7 separate regions of the Homo sapiens genome follow, and all the other regions are linked to region 5. The links are contacts of gene promoters, found by promoter capture Hi-C in blood cells and fetal thymus (Javierre and others, 2016). All regions are on one chromosome and are shown on one strand. Each heading gives the region's core, a stretch centred on a gene start or on the middle of the fragment in contact. The rest is flanking DNA. Distances are from core to core; before and after follow the strand shown. Region 1 has its middle 2.3 kb from the start of ZNF827. Region 2 overlaps MMAA (metabolism of cobalamin associated A). Region 3 overlaps SCOC-AS1 (SCOC antisense RNA 1). Region 4 holds the start of LSM6 (LSM6 homolog, U6 small nuclear RNA and mRNA degradation associated). Region 5 holds the start of USP38 (ubiquitin specific peptidase 38). Region 6 overlaps SCOC (short coiled-coil protein). Region 7 holds the start of ELMOD2 (ELMO domain containing 2).

Region 1 (2,727 bases), core at 206-2,705, 2.8 Mb before region 5:
CTGCCAAAAAATAGTATGCATTGTTTTCTTTGAAATTTCAGGCTAACCTCATTTTTTTTTTTGAGAAATACCCCTCTCAGTTTGTCAGTCAGTCATCCTTTCAAGTAAAAATAGCATTCCATTAAAAAGTGGCTATTTCAAACAATCTCACAAGTGATTTTCCTTCAGACAACCTATGTATTTCAGTATGCAGCAGAAGTGCTTTATATGTATCTACCTTTTTGTCAACAAAGAATATTTAAAAGTCTTGTACTTAAGGATTGAGATGTAATACAATTAATAATTTTTACTGCTCTATCAAGGACATTCTTAGATGAACCTCCCTTTTTCCTTCCTCTAAGTGCATGATGGTGAAGAATAGGATCACTATTATACTTTTTGGTGCTCTGCCCTGATTAGTGCTAAGATGTGGCATTTTTACCCACCATTGCTTTTGCATCATCAGTGCAAATGTCAACACAGATAAAAAGACAAATAACATCTTACTGTTAGTATGCAAGTAGTTCTGACCTCATGGACTCTGGATAGTATGAAAGTAGTTTCGGACCTGCAGACCACACACTATTCTAGGGTAAGTGCTCCCTTTGTCTACTCATCGTTAGCAATATTTGAGCTTGAATAGATTTCACTTCTGTGAGAGTGTTTATGAAACTTCTTCTTAGAGTGCACAGTTTTGAGAAAATCTATTTTAATTTCACATTTGAGAGGTAATGGAGATGGGGGTGGAGAGAGTACTATAATTATTAAGATAAAATATGCTTTTTAAAGCTTAGTCCATGGGTGGGGTGAATCAAATAGAATATTCCAATCTGATGAGTATGGCCAACAATAATCAAAGCTCATGGTTCATGGGTATATATATCCCAAAAGCATACATTTCCAAAATTATTTATGCATTTGATTTTGAAATCCATTATCGTAACCCCCAAGTATTTATTTTCCTAATGTTTTTGTTAGTCTGACATTAAAATTAGTTTGTGTTCCCTGAGCATACAGCGATTGAGGGTGAGATGCAAATGACCTTGAAGAGTGTTTTATAGCATAAAGGTACCAACCTGAGATTGAAACGGAAATTGTTCTGTCCTTATTTCCATTTTCTATTGTTGTGTACTATTTCAAATAATTTTTGGAAAGAGGTGGAGGTATGAATAAATTCAATTTAAAAATGCTTTTGGCTGTTGATAGAACACCTATATAATTAAAAGTTGACAGCATTTTCCTGCATGCCTTTAAAAGGTCGCAGGAAATGTACTCTGCTTTGAGGAAAGGCCTAAAGTGTGTTTTCAATTATAGCAAACTAAACATTAGGAAGAGTCCTAGCAATTCAGAAAAGGTAGTGGTGTGTCTATGCAGAGTCATAATCCTGAACACCCTAGCCAAAGGTTCTGAGAGAGCAGTGGTGAAGTGTGGTGACCATTTTGTTCAGCTGTAAAGATTCTACACACTCAGAGCATTGGTCTACTTGGAAAGGATGGGCTCTAATTTATCATTAATATATTAATTTCAAGTCCAATGTCACCGACAATAGTCAAAATTATGGCAAATTGAATTTGACCTGAGTGGAAAGATAGTTATATTTCAAATTATAATGCAGGGCAACCTAACTACCAGTTTTTTAAAACCAACATTTGAGGAAGAACTGGTTTAAGGATGATGCTCCTTTTTTTTTTTTTTTTTTTTTTTTGAGATGGAGTCTCGCTCTGTCGCCAGGCTGGAGTGCAGTGGCCCGATCTCGGCTCACTGCAACCTCCGCCTCCCAGGTTCAAGCGATTCTCCTGCCTCAGTCTCCCAAGTAGCTGGGACTACAGGAGTGTGCCACTACATCCAGCTAATTTTTGTATTTTTAGTAGAGACGGGATTTCACCATGTTGGCCAGGATGGTCTCGATCTCTTGACCTCGTGATCTGCCCACTTCCGCCTCCCAAAGTGCTGGGATTACAGGGTGCTCCATTTTAAACTTGACTGCTCTCTGTTTTGGTTTTAGATTGAATTCATGCAGGTGTTTCAAACCTCGCTTTCAATAGCATTACTTGTTACTGGGAAGCTAGATCTTTTGGGGGGAGTTGGCAGGGAGGGGTTGAACGTGAGATTTCTCTATCAGTGAAAGACATCTTTTGGGAGATACAGCACTCTTTAAGCTTCACTTATAAAAGTGTGCAATATAAAGCCTTATTATTATTTTTAATAAGGCAAGTCAGAATTTAACCCCCATGGCTCTCTTTAACACCACTGAAGTTGTAAGAATTAACTCAACCTCAAAGAGGCATGAGTTATCCATGTAGGCTTATAGAGTGTCATTTTAATGTTCTATGTCTTTACTGTGCCTCCACTTTCTTTGATGAAAAGGTCTATTTAAAAATTGGTAGGAAAATATTTAACATAATAAGATGATGAGTCAGAGTTTTAAAAAAGCTAAAAAGGGAAGATGTAGTTAAATAATGCACCTTTTTATTTTCTAGCTACATGACTCATGACATATAATGTATTCTGCTAAGTTCAAAGTTTCCTCTTACAAAGAGAGTTTTATGAAACAACTCTTCTTCAGACCATTTTTATTTCAATTATAGTAGCAGGTTTTGGAGTTTAAATCATTAACAACCTCTGAGTGAACTTTTATCCAAATGACTGCAAGTCACAAAGAGAACAGTCCTCTTTCACCAAGTACCTTTTGTGCTCTAGTGAGACCCGTCCTTTTCTATTTTTCTCCTTTATGTCTCTCTTTGAAGA
Region 2 (2,700 bases), core at 182-2,681, 2.4 Mb before region 5:
CCAAACACACTGTATTTTACATTGTCAAAATATAGTTTACATTAATCACTATGTTAATGAGTATGTAAAACATTATTTTGCATTGATGAATTTTGTATCTGCCTCCATCAAAAGCATAACAGCCATAAAATAATAATAATCAAATCAAAATGTTTCAACTAATTTTCATGATTCCCGAGAATATGGCTTCATCCTACAATTTGTAAGCTAAGCACTATCAAAATACAAGAGAAATTCCCCAGCTTTACAAGATTCAGTAAGATATCTCAAAAGTAGGCCATATCTAGTATATTAGTCTGATTTCAGGCTGCTGATAAAGACATACCCGAGACTGGGTAATTTATACAGGAAAAAGGGTTTAATGGACTTACAGTTCTATGTGGCTGAGGAAGCCTCACAATCATGGCTGAAGGCAAGGAGGAGCAAGTCATGTCTTACATGGATGGCAGCAAGGAAAGAGAGAGCTTGTGTAGGGAAACTCCCATTTTTAAAACCATCAGATCCCATGAGACTCATTCACTATCATGAGAACAGCACAGGAAAGACCTGTCCCCATAATTCAATCACCTCTCACCAGGCTCCTCCCATGACACATGGGGATTGTGGGAGTTACAATTCAAGATGTGATTTGGGTAGGGACACAGCCAAACCATATCAGTTATCTTTGTATTTATAGCACAATTATTTGCTCACAGAATTAATGAATGTACACCATAATTCTGCATGGGTCAATAACTCCACTACACTGATTACTCAGTTAATTGATGTTTCTAAAATGTACATTTTTTTCTAGATTTTACAGTAATATATTTTAAGGACTTTCTTTTTAAACTGATTTCAATATATGGATATTTTCCTTCATTAAAAATTTGCTCAGCAGCAGCCAGTCTGACTTGGGATATTTATCTTGAAATTGATCCAATGAATATTCTCAATTTCAATAACTACTCTGGCAAGAAAAAGCATACAGAATTTCCTAAATCAATACAGTAGATCAGTGTCTGCAGCACAGCACAATTCGTACAGGCAATGCAGTGTTGTACCAAGTGTTTCCATTTCTCAATGCTAATCACTTTTGATTTGAAGATAAGCTGTCAAATGCCATTAATCTGTTTACCATATTCCACCCCCCCCAACCACAGAAGGCTTTATTTTCTCTTTTTCAAATAATTTCAGGAAACTTTTGTAGAGCAGGATGACTTCTTAAATAAGCAACTTTTAAATAGGTTTTAAATAGGTCATCATGAGTTAAGAGTAATAAAGAACAAATACCAAATTCATGAAGGGATTCTCTAAAGTTCTCTGTCCACTTTACTTTTTATCACTTTTCCAGTAAGATTCAGATTTCCCAATTCCTACTTTTAGGCTTAAATGTGCTTGAGAAGTCTCTATTTTTCTAAATTCCATCACCATTAAATGTTTTGATTCCCACTGCTACCACCCTATTTCAAATCCAGGCTTGAACTAGGAAGCTCTGAGACCAACTATGGAACCTGGGTAATTTCTCATATTCTCAAAGTTCCTTCACTTACAAAATGAAAACATTAAGATCTACGTATCAGGATCATGGTGAGTATAAATGAGTATGCATGAGAGAGCCTGGCACAGGGCCTGGCATCAAGCAGGTGCTAATCACCTCTAAGAAACTTTCCTCTTTTCTCTCTCCCTCCTCAGTCCTCCTTTCAGACTTCACAGCAAGACTCATTCTGAAAGGTGAATGTGATCTCCTTAGCCTCCTACTCAAATTCCTCCAAAAGTTCACCGTACCCTAGGACAGTGGTTCTCAAAGTGTAGTCCCCAGGCCAGCAGCACCTCTTGCGCTTGCCTTTCCAAAATTCCTCTAAGGAGAGTTTACTATCTTCCAAACCTGCCAACTCTCCCAACCCCAAGATTTAACTCATCTTTTACATCCTTCCCCCTCTATGATATCTCTCCTATACTACCCAGCTTAAAATCTTTCCTGACCATCCCAGTCTCTAGGACTTTTTCTGACCTCTAATTCCAATTATTTCTGAATACAAAGAGTCTTCATCTTACAATCGGGTCTGTGTCTGGATAAACCCACTGTAAAGTCAAAAAATCTTTAACTGAACCATTGTGTAAGTGTAGGACTGTACTAAGGTGAAAATCTGCAGAGGTCACAAACTAGTTGCACCTGGCCCACCCACAGAAGGTGTGTGTTAACTAAATTGGTTGCAAGTAACATTAAAAATCAAGAAAAAATACGTAAAAATACAGATCTTTGGCCTGTGTTGGAGAAAATCGGATCTGCGTTTGAGAGACCCCCATTCCCACATGGCAACAATCAGCTAAATGGTAAATGTTTCGAGCATTCACCAGCTCTTTCCATTCTAAATAAAGGTTTTCTTTTGACATCTTCAAATATCTCAAATGGTGATTTACATTTCTTATGGATATGTAACTTTTCATGCTTGTTTTGTCTCTCCTAATAGAATACAGCCCTTAAAAAACCTGTCCTTGTCTTTGACTTTTTAAAAACCTCTTGTTACCCTGAACACAAACCGGTATTTAGTGCAAAATTATTGTAAAAGAATATTCTGAACATTGTAGACAACAGCAAAATGCTGAATAATCCACACAGTTTTTCTGGAAACTTTTGGCTTTCTACCAAGTTGGAAAAGTTTTATTAGTTTATGTTTTCTAAACATATGGATTAGGGTACAACTCTTAAGACAGATA
Region 3 (2,700 bases), core at 164-2,663, 2.8 Mb after region 5:
AATATCTGGATAGTTTTCTTCAGCAGGAATTTATTATTTCAATCTTGATGACCTTCACAACTTTTTTTTATAACAACGATGACATCTTCAATGGTGTAATCATTCCAGACTGTCATGATGCTCTCTCTATCAGAATTCTCTTCCATGGCATTGACAGTCCTTTCCATTGAGTACCCTGTGTAATAAGGCTTAAGGGTTCTTAAGAGCCAAGGATCTAGAAGCTGAATTAAAGACATTGTGTTTGGGGGCAAGTAGACCACATTGACAGCTTCAGTTTTGACCTCATGGGGTTCTGGGTGGCCAGAGGCACTGTCCAATATCAGAAAAAAATTTAAAGGTAGTCCCTATGGGCAAGGTAATTCCTGACTTCAGGGACAAAGCATTGATGGAAACAATCCAGAAAAAGGGTTCTCATTGTCTGGGCCTTCTTGTTGTACAGCCATTAAGACTGGCAGCTGATGTTTTTCTTTTCCCTTCAAGGCTCAGGGATGAGCAGCTTTATAGATAAGGGCAGTCCTGATCATAACCCCCCTGCATTTGCACAAAACAGTATAGGTAGCCTATCCCTTCCTGCCTTAAATCCTGGTGCTCACTTCTCTTCCTTACTAATAAATGTCCTTTGTGGATTTTTTTTCCAGAATAGGGCACTTTGATCTGCATTAGAAACCTGTTCAGGCAGATATTCTGTCTCCTCAATGATTTTCTTAATGGCATCTGGAAACTTGTCTGCTGTCTCTTGATTGGCAGAAGCTTCTTCTTTAATTATCTTGACATTTTTAAAGCCAAACCTCTTCCTAAAATTATTAAGCCATCCTTTGCCAGCATTAAATTCTTCAGGTTTACATCCTTCGCCTTCCTTTTGCTCTAAGTTGTCATATAATGACTTCGCTTTTTCTCAAATCACATCACAGTAGGTATGCCTTTCTTATAGCAATCCTGCATTCCCACAGAAAAACTGCATTTTCAATACTAGATAAAAAGGTATTTTGCAAAAAGTGTAAGTTTTTCATGCTTGCTGGTGTAGCTGCAGTGATAGCTTCATGAATTTCCTTTTCTTTTTTTACAATCTTTCTTAAGCTGAATTCATTTATCTTGAAACGGTGGGCAACCACAGCTGCAGACTTCAATCTGCAATACATATCAAGCAATTCAACTTTGTCTTGTAATGTCATGAATTTTCTCTGCTTCTTGGGAGCACTTCCAGCATCACTAGTGGCACTTTGTATGGGTGCCATGGTGTTATTCAAGGTTTACAGTATTGCACTAAACACAATGAAAAAACACTAGAGAACCACAAGAGATTACTTTTTACTGCTATAGGCAATTTACCAGAGAGATGAACTGCTCACACAGAGATAATTAGCATCCCATGGCATTTTAAGTGGATACTCACAGCACTTAAGCTCACAGCAATAGCAGCAGGAAGTGGCTGTGAAATTATGATGGTAGTACAGTATGTACTACAGTTAATTTTATGCACTTATGGTTTAATACAGCATCTGTACATTTGTTTACATTTCTCTCAACTGCAAATGGTGCCATGTGTGCTCTGTAAGCATGTGCATAAGTTTTGATAAATTGTAACTTTTTATAATAGATTTGTGATATTTTATGGTAATAGTAACACAGACTAGTATCTACATATGTTTATGCATTTGTGACATACCTAATTTTTTATATATTTCTAGGCTATGAAGTTTGTGAATTTTTCCAAATTGTCACAATCTCCAAAAAATTTTCCATTATATTTACTGAAAAAAATGCATACAAGTGGACTCATGCAGTTCAAACCCATGGTGTTCAAAGGTCAGCTGCACTTACAAGCTAACGATTGCCTGTTTCATGAATGCTGGCGGAAGACATGAGATGTCTGGGTCAGAGTCTAAGGACTCTCTTACTCCCAGCTCATCATGAGCTTCATGCTGATTTGTTGCTGTTACCTATGTCCCCCAAGTCCCACAGGGATGAGGCAGAGGGCCCCTGTAGATGCCTATACATGCAGCGGGTTATAATATAGGAGAGGAACATTGAGTTTGGGGAATCTTTGGCTTTTATGGCAAGTGGAAGCAAGCTTGCTCTTTAACCAGAGAGGCATTACCTCATCCCTTAAAGTTGCTCTCTGAAAACATACCTGAGTAAAGCCTGGGTTGACTGTATTCTTGGCATACCAGCAAGAATATGCAATGACACTCAGGGCCCATCCCAGTTTGCTTCTCCCAAAAACCTCTAAATTGAATGATCTTTAGTTCTGTGTCAAACTCCTGTTTTTCTTCCTCCTTCCTTATATAGTATCCTAAGGGAAATACCACAAAATGTCTCAGAAAATGTTGGTTGGATATCTAAAGTTTAAAAAGGAAGAGAACCACACCAGCTGGAGATTAAAGAAGCATCAGTAGAAGTCAGTGGCCATTAATAGAAATATTTTTAAAATAAGTCAAGTAGTATTTTTGTAGCTCCCTCCCTAACCTTTCTTTTCCACTATTTGACCAAACCCTACAACAATAAGAAGTAACAGCTGGGCACAGTGGCTCACGCCTGTAATCCCAGCACTTTTGGTGGCTGAGGTGAGCAGATCACTTGAGGTCAGGAGTTCCAGACCAACTTGGCCAATATAGTGAAACCCTGTCTGTAATAAAAATACAAAAATTAGCCGGGCATGGTGGCTTGGCCTGTAGTCTCAGCTACTTGGGAGGCTGAGGC
Region 4 (2,700 bases), core at 11-2,510, 3.0 Mb before region 5:
TTACCAAACATCTCTAAAACTTTTTTGGAAAACACTGCAGCAATGTGTATGAAGGCCTAAAACAGACCTTTCAGATGACAGCATCTAATCTGATAATTTCACTTCTGAGAATCTAGTCCAAGGAAATAATCTAAAAAATAGGGGGAAAAGAGTTTATCAAAGCACTATCTGGGATGCTAAGATGATGTAAAAATTCAAAAACAATCTAATGTCCCACAATCGGGAAATGACTGAATAATTTACGGGACCTAAACTGGGACCCACAATGATAGGACAATCAAAAGAAGATACAAAATTAGAATAATATTTAGGAAGAGTTTTTAAATGGAAGTGGAAAACTACACTGTTAAGTGATTAAACATGTACACTCTTAGTTCAAGTAGAAGCTAGCACATACAAGAGAAAATGATCGTAGGTGAAAGGGTTCAGTGAATATTATTTTCTTCACTAAAGTCTTCTATGTTTGCAATTTTCTACAATAGTCACGTATTACTAAGAGCAGTGGGGCAGGGTAATCCGCATCATCTTAATCCTACACACCTTAAAAATGCCTGCTATGCAGGTGTGCGGACACGCATACGCACAGAAAACCTTGGGCGATAGGACTTAAGACCATACAATCGGGTTCCTCGACCTGACAACTTGGTAAGACAGGCGAGTCCAGCCTTTAATTCCTGTGGTCAGGCGCAGCCACCCCGATGTAGGAGAGGGTTCGCAATTCCCTGAAGCCCTCCTGGAAGACAGGCGAAGCCTAGGCCTGGGTTCGGGATCCGCTTTCCCGCCGAATCTTGGGATTAGCGTCGGGGCTCCCTGGGGAACTTCAACAACCTGAATTGATCTCGGACGCCAACTCGGTAGGAGCCGGGACGGTGCCGCTCCTCTCCGCGCAGTCTAGGCGCCTCGCTGAGGGCGGTCCCGGCGCCCACCATCAGACCTCTCCCAGCCATTCCATGCGCGGAGAGCTTGGACGCGGCATTTCGCGGGGACCCGCCACCCAGCGGTCCCTTCCCGGAGCCCCAGCCTGTTCACCGCAGGCCCTTTCCGGGGCTGCCTCGCCCGGCCTAGGGCCGCTGCAGCCGCCGCTCCACAGCGCGACTGAACACTGGGGCACCGAACCTGGGGCTGCGCCCGGCCCCGTCGTCGGCCCGCGCAGCGGTGCGGCTCACCTCGCCGGCGGGAACCAGAACCCTCACTCCAGGCGCCCCACGAGCCCGGCCGCCGCGGATGATCCCAGCCAAAACCGAAAGCGCCGAGGCAGGGGCACTTTTCTGCCTCAGCCAATCAGTGCTCTTCTCTGCTACGGCAGCCCGCTGGGGCCGAAAAAGCCTGTCAGCACCAAAGCGCGCAAATCCAAGATTCCTGGTTTGTCTAGTAGCAAAATTGGTGCAGTGGAGTTCCTCTAACAGAAATCTGAGTACAAAACAAATACAATACAAAACAAAAACAAAATTCCAGGAAACTAGAAGTGATCTTTTGGGCAGGATTTATTTACAGAAGTGTAAAAAATAACTTGAAGTCATAGGAAACTGGAATTTACTGTTTAAGTAACGGCATTGTGTACCCAGAAACGTCCTTGAATAGTTTAAAGCAAATAAATAAATAAATGAAACACCTCAAGTCTTTAAATCTACCTCTGGATATTGATTAAATGTGTGAAGACTTAAGCCATTTTAGCAAGAGACTGTTTCCATGGCAATGTTAATTGATACAAAAATAATCAAAATCACTCAAGTAACTCCAAATTATAATGACATTAATTGTGTTACATTACTAGTTCCTATTGGAAATGGTGTGCAGACTTATTTCAGTGCTACTATGGGAACTTGGTTTGGAATTTTGCATGAATTCTCAATACTCTTTCTATTAATGGAATTGAAAGGGAAAAAGAAGAGAACTGTTACACCAGGACTTGATTCGTTTTTCCCCCTCCACATATACTCTCATCAGTTGAAAACTTATACTTTAATTATATTTATGATTTGTAACACTATACACAGAGTGATAAGATCTTTCAACACAGATCCTTAACCCCATTAGGTGTTATAAAATCTAAGATGCAAAATTTTTTTCGAAGATAAAGAGTTCCTCCCTTGTAAACTTCTTTTGGTTAAAGGCAGAAGAAATGAACTTTTGATTGATATCAGGGACAGAAAACAACTGGATATGATTTGTTAAAGAATAGAGACTTCCTTATATCCTTCTATAAAAGTTCAGTTTGGATAAAGACCGAACAGTTACTGATTTATTGTGAGGGCTGTATTTGAAGTTCTTGCAATATAAAATACAATGTAAATAAAAATTTTAAGAAAAGTACCATTTAAATCAAATAATTACGTGCAAAGAACAAACATAATAGGATAAAAAGCCCTGTTCCTAAAAACTTTCTTTGCAAACGACATCAAATTGCACATTCCTTACTGATTGTTTAAATTATTAAAAAAAAAAAGAAAATTTTTGATTCAAACTTCTTTCCCTTTCCTACAGAGCCCTAATCGAGCCGTTAACACTAGTGTGGTGGGTAGGGAGCCATGAGGAGTTTTAAGGGCCTAGTTCATCTGCTGAGCAGCTGCAACCTTCTCTAAGGGGAGTAGCTGGGTAAGGGCCCAGTTTGACACACGGGGTGGGCATCCTGAATTAATTCATGAGCTAACAAGCTTATAAAAAGTGTGGCTGTTCCCAAAAGCCCCTCAGCAGCTTATA
Region 5 (2,700 bases), core at 34-2,533:
ATGTGTGTGTGCAAGAGAGACATATACTGATTTTTTATGAGATATTCTGAAAGATAATGACCCTTACCTGTGGAAGAGATGCTTGCAAAAACTTCTTGCAGGGAAGGCAGTAGTGTGGCAGGCTCGGCCTTCCAGATGTTCTGCAGCAAGTTACTCACTTTTGTCACCTGGGAGACATATTCCCGCAGCTCTCTTTCCTGGGTGGACACGCACTGGAAATGGCCTATCGTTCGAACCAGCTGTTGACAGAACGTGATGGACAATTTCCCCTTGGGGATGCATTGCACAAAGTCGGTCAGAAGGTCGCTCAGTCGGGCACAGAGCTGCGGCTCCGGCCTCTCACACACCATCCGTAACACCTCTACCTGCAGGAGGCTAAAGAGATCCAGCACCGACGGACAGCTCATAATCAGCTTCAGGCCGTTGTGAATGTAGTCCAGGATGGCTACATCCTTCCTGTCCAGAGAGTGGTAGCCCTGATGAAGGAGGCCCAACACGAAGGTCTTGTTGAAGAAGGACTCGAACTCTGGCCGGTGGTATCGTGCGTAGGCCTCCAGCACCTGGTGCCCCACCTGCCGCTGGAAAGGGTCCTGGCCCTCCAGGATGAGCCGGGTCGTCAGGTCAAACATGGCCTCGCACTGCGCCTCGTCTAGCCAGTGCTCCGCCGATTCCACCACCTTCCGCACAATCACCCGCTTGAGGGGCAGGGGATGCGAGGAACTCACAAGGCCCTCCAGGATCTTGTCCATTGTCGCCACGCTGCAAGGCCAGGGCCAGGGGATAAGGAGCGGGTGGCGGCAGCCCCGAGGTGGGGCAGGAGAGCCCCGGGGCGGAGATGAACTTGGAGCGCCGCAGCAGCAGCGCGACGGGCCACGGCCACCGCCGCCTCAGCAGCCACATTTATGGCGCAGGGAGACCCATCCAAGCCGGGGCGGGAGCTAGCGAGCCTGGAGAGCCTAAGAACCGACACCTGCGGCTGGCCTAAGGCGCCAGAGGCCCGTACTCCGCCGCCGCCCCGGGCCCTCGATCCCACTCAGCATCAGCGCCGAGGGGCCTGTCGGGCCCCCCAGCGGCGTCGGCGGGAGCTCAGGGCCCGGGGCTGCTAGCCGGCGGGTGGAGGAAGCACGCCTCCGAGTTCCGGGTCAGGTGTGGGCGTCCAGTCTCCAGCAGGTCGTGAGAAGAAGCCGGTCCTGGGCTGAGTCAGGAGGCGCTGTCACGGAGAGTGCTGGGATCAGCCGGGGAGAAGAGACCGAAGCGACACCCTTTGACCCGGATTTTGAAGTGCCGGCAAACAGGAAGTGAAGGACCTAAGAACCTCCGGAAGGACCGCCCCTCCGCCCCTCTGCCCCTCCGCCCCTCCGCCTGTCCGCCTCTCTCCTTCTCCCTTGTTCCCTCTCTCCCTCCCTGCTCCCCCACCTCCCTCCCGAGTCGTAGACTCCCTTCCCCCCGGCGCTGGGAGTCTCCTTCCCGCCCCGCCGCGCAGGTGCGGCGACGGCCGCGTCACTGGAGAGTGTGTCGAGTCACAGGCGGTCTTCCGCGCGGAGCGTCCCCGGCGGACGCTGCGCAGATGGCTGCGACTGTAGGATTCTTGCCGGCTAGTCTTCGTCGGTTCCGCCTGCGTCAGGTTACTCGTGAAAACTCGAATAAGTGCTATCGATGTGAAATCCGAGGAAAAGAGCATTTGGGGGAAAAGTAAGGAAAACTCAAAACTCGGATTGAGAAGTCTGCCTTGGCTCATTAATCAAGAATTGCGCTTGCGCGCCTAAATGTGACTGCCTTTATCCTGCGATGTCGGTATTGAAGTAAGAGCAATACTGGCGGCGTACCTAGCATTTAGCGACCATCAGTATCAGTAGCAGGCCTCTAGCAAAGAACCAGTTAGTGAGCTTTGTACCATATCGAAAATTATAAGCCGTCCAAAAAAGTGTGAGAGTAAGGAAAATGGCAGATTAGAATCAAAATATTTTTATACCTGTGTCATACAAGGGTACTTTGAAAATAGAAAACCAGGTGGAAATACCACAAAACTTATTGTATATGTTGACACCGAAGATGGTTTACAATAGGGAAGAACAGGTGCAATCATGCTTGTTCTGTTTCATGCCAAATTCCGAAGATTCACAGTAAGAATTTAATCAGAGGTCTTTATATTGGAAAATATTGCCTAACTGTAGCCTGCTTCAGGCTTGGTTAATATAGTTGTGAAACTAGACATTAAGGCCCTGTAATACAGACAAAACTTTAAAGAAATAGGTCATTTAAAATGTCCCGTAGAAAAATGAACAAAATTCTGTTACTTCAGTTTGCTAAATAGTGTTTTGTTTTTTTACCAAGTTACAAACACGATTACACTAATATATTCACACGTCGATTATGGTAGTCTTAAGAAGAGCAGTTTAGAGGAGACAGGAGCTTGAGTAAAAGGGAACTTAAGACCAAGTTGACTCGTAGGAAGATACGGAAGATAAAAGAGAATTGAGGTAATTAATCTATCAGTCATGCTAGAGACAGGAATGATTTTTCCAATAGGAGGTGAAGGTACACAGATGTTTGTCTTTACTGGGAATAATGCCACAGTGGAAGACAAAGGTAATATAGAAAATAAAATATTAAGAAGGAATTAAGTATTAAGAAGGATCGTGGATTTGAGGTGGAGTGGAGGAAATTTGGAATTAATCTTTGTGCTAAGAAACTAACAGG
Region 6 (2,700 bases), core at 104-2,603, 2.8 Mb after region 5:
TGGTAGCACAAGAAGAGCTGTGGCTGAGGCTGCTAGCAGCCACCAAAATCTTGTATTTATAGCTGGAAGATGGCTTCCCAGCCAGGGACTACATTTCTCAGCTCCTCTTGTATCTAGATGTAACTAAGTCTCCACACCACTGGAATATGAGAAGATATATGAGCCATTTCCAGGCACAGCCCATAACACCTTGCATATGTACACTTCCATGTTCTTTTTCTGCAAATTAGAAGAATAACTAGAGTGACTTGAAAGCCATGATTTAAAATGGCAGCACCATCCTCAGCCAAAGTCCCTGAATAACTGTTTGAACAAGGGCTGCTAGCCTGCAATGCTGACCTTGGAACCACTGGTTGGGAGAGAAACTTCTATATTTATATTCTTTATCACTGGGTCTCTTGCTAAAGTAGCTTAGCCTACCCTAAAAAATACAACTTCCTTTTTCCCTGGAGATACTGGATCCTTTGAGTGCTTTGCTTTTGTTTTCCAAATTAATGTATAATAGCCTATGATATTTATATTGATAACCAGTTATAGTTGTATTAATAAAAATATTATTCCCCTAAATAATCAGTAACTGGGTACTTAAATAAGATACACTATTCTGTGGCATTGAATAACCCTGGATACACCACTATACCTAAATACCCCATTTACTTAGGCAACTATATCAAAACACACACAACCTCTGAAATAGCTTTTTATTAAACGGCAAAGCAGAACTGCAACACAATTTAAATGTCTGTAAATTAGGTCACAAAAGGGATGCAAAATGTTTGCAGTTTGACTATTATATATTCACACAGCTAAAGTCATTCATCAACTCTTACACCAATACATAAGATTATTCCATGATTAAAAGCCCAAATCTAATAACCTTAAGCTACATTAGTGGATCTCTTTTCATATTATAAGATTTTAGCAATACTTCCAATATTGATTTCCTTACCAAATGGAATCTAGAAGCTAAATTTTTAAAAATTGTTAAAGGATGACTAAAACTCTTCAAACCCAGTAGCAGGGTTTACAGAAAATTCTAGAACAAGTGAGATAAAATACTGAGCAAGATAATAAGTATACATGTATAACTTTCCCATTTTATTCACTATTCTAATACTAATACACCATTACGGAATTTTGCAGAAGTTGACCCACTGGGTACAAATCAACTTAGAGACCAAACTCTTTGTAACTGTTCTCATCCAGATGTGGCTAACATAAGGGTAGTCAAACTTAATCCACTTTCATATATATTTCCCAAAAGATCTACTCTGTGCCAGAGAAAACACAAATCTGGAGTGAAAATATTTGGTTACTACTGTTTACCGAGTACTTTTCCACCCTATTTCCATTTTTCCTCAAAATTTTCTATTTTAACATACACATGACCAGAAATTATATATTTTCAGATAATACAAAATGAGTTATTTTGGGCAAAAAGAAGTTTTTAACAACAAATATTCCCAAGTTAATTCAGTTTCAAAGAAAAACCTTCATTTTTAGCCTCCATCTATTTCCAATTAATTAAAGAGACACTAGCATTCCTATCTTAACACTAAATACACAAATGACAAGCCCTAGCTGAGACAGTATCTTATTTTGGTTAAGTTTCAACAATTAAAATACAGGTTACTCTCAGAGATGATTAACTATTAAAATTACTTTTACAAATGTGACACCAATTTTTTTCCTTAGCGGAAGGGAAATAGGAAGGAAGAGGCAAATGGAGAAGAGGCACAAGATGGTGGACAGGGTACATAAAGCTGTGCATTTAGTACATGATTTTGGTCACTTTTTCACAACACGGTGGTTATTTTCTTGTATATCTTACTAATCCTATAATAAAAGACAGTGCTAAACCTACAAATTCAATAAAACATTCATCTTTAAGTTTCATAAATATATGCAATTCTAATCATAAAGTCTCTACAATACATTTGCACGTTTTCATAGACTAACATAATACACAAACTTATGGAAGTCTCCTGTTATTGTGTTATTTTTGTCTACATCTGACATTATCTTCATAAATATTCAATGAAGCCACAAAGGTACTGTAACTTTTGGAATCTATCCAAGTTTTAAAGAAAAAATGATCAGCAGCAATTCCATAAAACAGAAGGGTGTCAATCCCTTACTTTCTTTTGCTTTTTGTGTCAGTTGTTTGAAAAACACTAGAAGCTGACATGAGATTTTCTATATATTGTCCAAGAACTTGGTTTTCTGATTTTAGCTTCAGATTTTCTTCCTTAACTGCATCTACTCTTGCAGAGAGATCTATATAAAAAATAAAAATGCCCATTATCAATAAAACAATGACAATGATTCCATATTACAAAATTCTTAGGATTCATTCTTAAAAGAAATAATACAATCCTTAAATTTTAAGAATTCGGATTTTAGAGACAGCAAGGTAAACAAACTGAGTACAAATTAGTAGACAAATTCCTAAAAAGATATTTCACATTAGACTAAATGCTATTCTTCATAAATAGCATTAATGTTGAGTAATTTTTTAAAAAGACTTTGTTTTTAAAATGTGAATTTTGGTTCATGTCTTATCAACATAAAACTATAACATCTTTACTAGAAATGTTTAAGATATATATCAGGTTAACACAACTGAATTCATATACTGAATACAGGCAGTCAGTTTCCAAGCAACTTATCATCTTGTATTGTAACATTATCAAGACATTG
Region 7 (2,700 bases), core at 24-2,523, 2.7 Mb after region 5:
AGAAATAAACATTTTTTTTTCCTGGAGGAGGGAAACATACAAGACAAGCTTAATGACCTTAAACTGAATTTTAAAATTTAAAAAGTTTATACAACTGATCAAATCTCAAATTATGTATCTATCATTTCATTGTGTCTGTTTTGACAGTTTAATTAGGCATTTAAAAACAATGGCAGGTGTAATATATACCGCTATTAATTGATGATCAAATGGCCAATTAATCACTTTTTCAAAACTAAAATTCAAACAATGTACTCAAACTATTCAATGGCTTGAAAGAGTAACAGAATGGTTTGCACTTTTTGCTAAATAATTGTATTTCATATCTTAGTTTCCTAACTTCCCATTCTTTGAGAACTGGGGCTCAACAGTTCAAGATCAAGAGGACTCCAACTAATCAACAATTAAAATATATACCAAAACATCAGAGTTGTTTTTATAGAATACACTCTTCTTATCCCATGTGGATAATTCGTTACAACTGTCCCAGTCAGGTGATGCCAGCAAATAAAAACACTACAAACTTAAGTATACAAGTTGAACACTGAGTATATAACACCTTAGCTCATTCTTGATTTTCCATTCAATAGGTCAAGGGCAGAAATACTAACAAGTTTTTGTTTTGCTAAGTACACACTCGATACAACTATATCTTATGCCATAAGAAAATTCTTCAGCTTCTAAATGAAAAAGTCAGGGAGATACTAGTGAGAGGGAGATACTTAAAAACAAAATTGCTCGTCTCCTTCCTGCCTTAAACATTCCCACAGACACGTCACCTCTGGACTAGGGCCTGAGGAGGGACTGTCGAAGTTCGAAGTACCCGCAGGTCAGTGCAGAAAGAGCGCATAGCACAGCTGGGTTGATCATTATCTTGAAAATCAAGCCATCTAGTCCGCGCTCATTAGGACAAAAGCGCAGAACTGCCGAGCAGAGGGGATGCACGCGTAGCGGCGCCTGAGCACCCCAGGGCTCTGGGCGTCTCTGCGCCGACCCCCCTCGCGCGCCGCCCGCGAATGGGAGGGCAGGGCTCGCACAAAGACCCGCCGGCCCAGGCGCCCCCGGGTTCCCGCAGAACCCCGCGGGGCTCGCGAGCCCGCGCGCTCTCAGTGCAGCCGCACCGAGGCATCCGGGGCAAGAGGAAAAGAAACAGCAGCCACCTCACAGGAGCGGAAGAACTAGGGGGAGCAGGAGCTGCCTCGGTTTCCCCACTGCAAACAGCCGGCAACGGAAACGACGGAACACTCCCTTCAAGCACCGCGACCCGGAAGTCAGGGAGCGAGGCCGCGGACCCGCCTTCCCAGGGCCACTGCCCGCCCCGCCCCTCCGGCCTCTTCCGATTGGCCCGCGCTCCACCTATTGCTAACGCTGGAGAGAGGTCGAGCTGAGTGGCCCAGGCGCGAGGGCTCAGATACTAGGGACGCCCAGACGGTTTCCCTGGCAACGGCGGCCAGGAGCCCCGCCCCGCGCCGGAGTAGCGCCTCCTAGCGCTGCGCTGGAGACTTTTCCCTCCTTGAACCTCAGGTCCTTAGCGCGGGTTGACACCTTGTACTATTCCTAGGCTCCAAGCGCGGAAGAAACCCTGTGCTTACGGTAACTTATAGTGCCTTAGTTACAAAAGCGCTTTCATCTGCATTGAATCTTAATTCTGTGAAGTAATTATGAATAACTCCACTTTATGCACGAGAAAAGGGAACCGGCTACTTGACTGTGGCCAATACGTGGCAGATGAGGAAAGTCCATGTGTTGAGAAACGAAGTTTGGACTTTATCCTATAATACTATAGGTCTAAAAGTTAATTTATCAAATGTTTATTCCCTAACTGGTTGTTTTTGTTGAAAAAGTAATTTCGTGATTACTTTTTAAAAACCTCAAGCAGTAAGTTTCTTAATTCAACAAGTATTTGTTGATTGTTAGCACAGGCAGTGTTCCAAAAGGCAGTCAAACACGAAACAAACAGCCAAATATTTAATATGTCAGATGCTACTAAATGTTAAGGGTATAGGGGTTGTTAGCTAAGGGGTAATGGGGAGTCTGTGGGGGAAGTCATTGCATACAGTGTGGTCAAGGAAGTCTCATTATTAACGTGGCATTTTGGCCTCATTGAACGAAGTAAGGGAGTTTACTGTGGGAGTATCTGGAGGGAGAGTGATCCAGGCACCAGAATGACAAGTGCAAAGACCTTGAATTGGGAGGGTTTTTGAAATGTTGGAGGAAGAGCAAGAAGGCCGGGGTGGCTGGAGGAGAAAGAGCAAGGGGGAGAGTAGAATATAAATACAAAGGACAACTGATACTGAAAACAAATTTCCCCATCCACCCAAAACTCCTGATACCTCCGTCACCTTGCTCAGAAGCAACCAGTATTACTTTCTTGTTTCTAATTCCAAAAATATTATATGCAAGTGTATATATGTATATTCCTTCCAACTCCTTGAATTGAAGCAAGTGATACATACTTTCCCACATCTCAACCAGCGTTTAAAAAATGGACTAATTGTAGAACACTAGCCATGTGCAGGGTGCATAAGCCGTCATCCCTGTCCCATACCAACAATGAACTTGGTAATGAAGTCTGGATAGACACTACAATAGTAAAATCACAGAATCTTAAATCTTAAAGAGAACTTATAACTATCATCTAATGTAATTTTTAAAATTATAGATTAAAAGATTTAGAAAGGCAAAGTGCACAGCCGATTT

What was found. Contacts are between HindIII fragments. The CHiCAGO score rates a contact against its expected background, and 5 or more counts as called.
Region 1: a fragment that was not itself captured here is called in contact with the fragment with the promoter of USP38 in region 5 in 1 of 17 cell types (non-activated CD4 T cells); the score reaches 5.6 in non-activated CD4 T cells.
Region 2: a contact is called between a fragment that was not itself captured here and the fragment with the promoter of USP38 in region 5, in 6 of 17 cell types (non-activated CD4 T cells, total CD4 T cells, total B cells and 3 more). The highest score is 13.2, in non-activated CD4 T cells.
Region 3: a fragment that was not itself captured here is called in contact with the fragment with the promoter of USP38 in region 5 in 2 of 17 cell types (non-activated CD4 T cells and total CD4 T cells); the score reaches 10.7 in non-activated CD4 T cells.
Region 4: a contact is called between the fragment with the promoter of LSM6 here and the fragment with the promoter of USP38 in region 5, in 1 of 17 cell types (non-activated CD4 T cells). The highest score is 6.1, in non-activated CD4 T cells.
Region 6: a contact is called between a fragment that was not itself captured here and the fragment with the promoter of USP38 in region 5, in 1 of 17 cell types (non-activated CD4 T cells). The highest score is 6.0, in non-activated CD4 T cells.
Region 7: a contact is called between the fragment with the promoter of ELMOD2 here and the fragment with the promoter of USP38 in region 5, in 5 of 17 cell types (activated CD4 T cells, non-activated CD4 T cells, naive CD8 T cells and 2 more). The highest score is 7.0, in activated CD4 T cells.

The regions. Positions count from the first base shown.
Region 1 is chr4:145,939,743-145,942,469 of GRCh38, reverse strand. No RefSeq gene overlaps it. Among named protein-coding and RNA genes, the nearest start is that of ZNF827, 2.3 kb to the right of the region's middle. The HindIII fragment of the contact is 1,370 bases long and covers 771-2,140 here.
Region 2 is chr4:145,620,027-145,622,726 of GRCh38, reverse strand. All of the region lies in intron 1 of MMAA (metabolism of cobalamin associated A), which reads right to left. It also overlaps the pseudogene NCOA4P3. Among named protein-coding and RNA genes, the nearest start is that of MMAA, 2.0 kb to the right of the region's middle. The HindIII fragment of the contact is 3,337 bases long and covers 1-2,700 here.
Region 3 is chr4:140,362,408-140,365,107 of GRCh38, reverse strand. The region is part of intron 2 of SCOC-AS1 (SCOC antisense RNA 1); the gene reads left to right. It also overlaps a transcript of SCOC not described here. Among named protein-coding and RNA genes, the nearest start is that of SCOC-AS1, 9.6 kb to the left of the region's middle. The HindIII fragment of the contact is 1,321 bases long and covers 753-2,073 here.
Region 4 is chr4:146,174,278-146,176,977 of GRCh38, reverse strand. It overlaps LSM6 (LSM6 homolog, U6 small nuclear RNA and mRNA degradation associated), which reads right to left and starts at 1,260. Exons shown (of 4, transcript NM_007080.3): 1 at 1,167-1,260. RefSeq lists a silencer at 1,051-1,110. The HindIII fragment of the contact is 3,935 bases long and covers 1-2,656 here.
Region 5 is chr4:143,183,500-143,186,199 of GRCh38, reverse strand. It overlaps USP38 (ubiquitin specific peptidase 38), which reads right to left and starts at 1,283. Exons shown (of 10, transcript NM_032557.6): 1 at 68-1,283. The coding sequence starts at 749. It overlaps USP38-DT (USP38 divergent transcript), which reads left to right and starts at 1,339. Exons shown (of 4, transcript NR_185979.1): 1 at 1,339-1,692. RefSeq lists silencers at 892-1,141, 1,362-1,411 and enhancers at 463-1,347, 1,348-2,233. The HindIII fragment of the contact is 4,447 bases long and covers 1-2,700 here.
Region 6 is chr4:140,380,539-140,383,238 of GRCh38, reverse strand. SCOC (short coiled-coil protein) reads right to left here. Exons shown (of 4, transcript NM_001153484.2): 4 at 1-2,277. The coding sequence ends at 2,135. Among named protein-coding and RNA genes, the nearest start is that of SCOC, 8.2 kb to the right of the region's middle. The HindIII fragment of the contact is 3,889 bases long and covers 1-2,700 here.
Region 7 is chr4:140,522,741-140,525,440 of GRCh38, reverse strand. ELMOD2 (ELMO domain containing 2) reads right to left here and starts at 1,273. Exons shown (of 9, transcript NM_153702.4): 1 at 1,161-1,273; 2 at 1-21. The coding sequence starts at 12. RefSeq lists silencers at 912-1,031, 1,222-1,571. The HindIII fragment of the contact is 7,186 bases long and covers 51-2,700 here.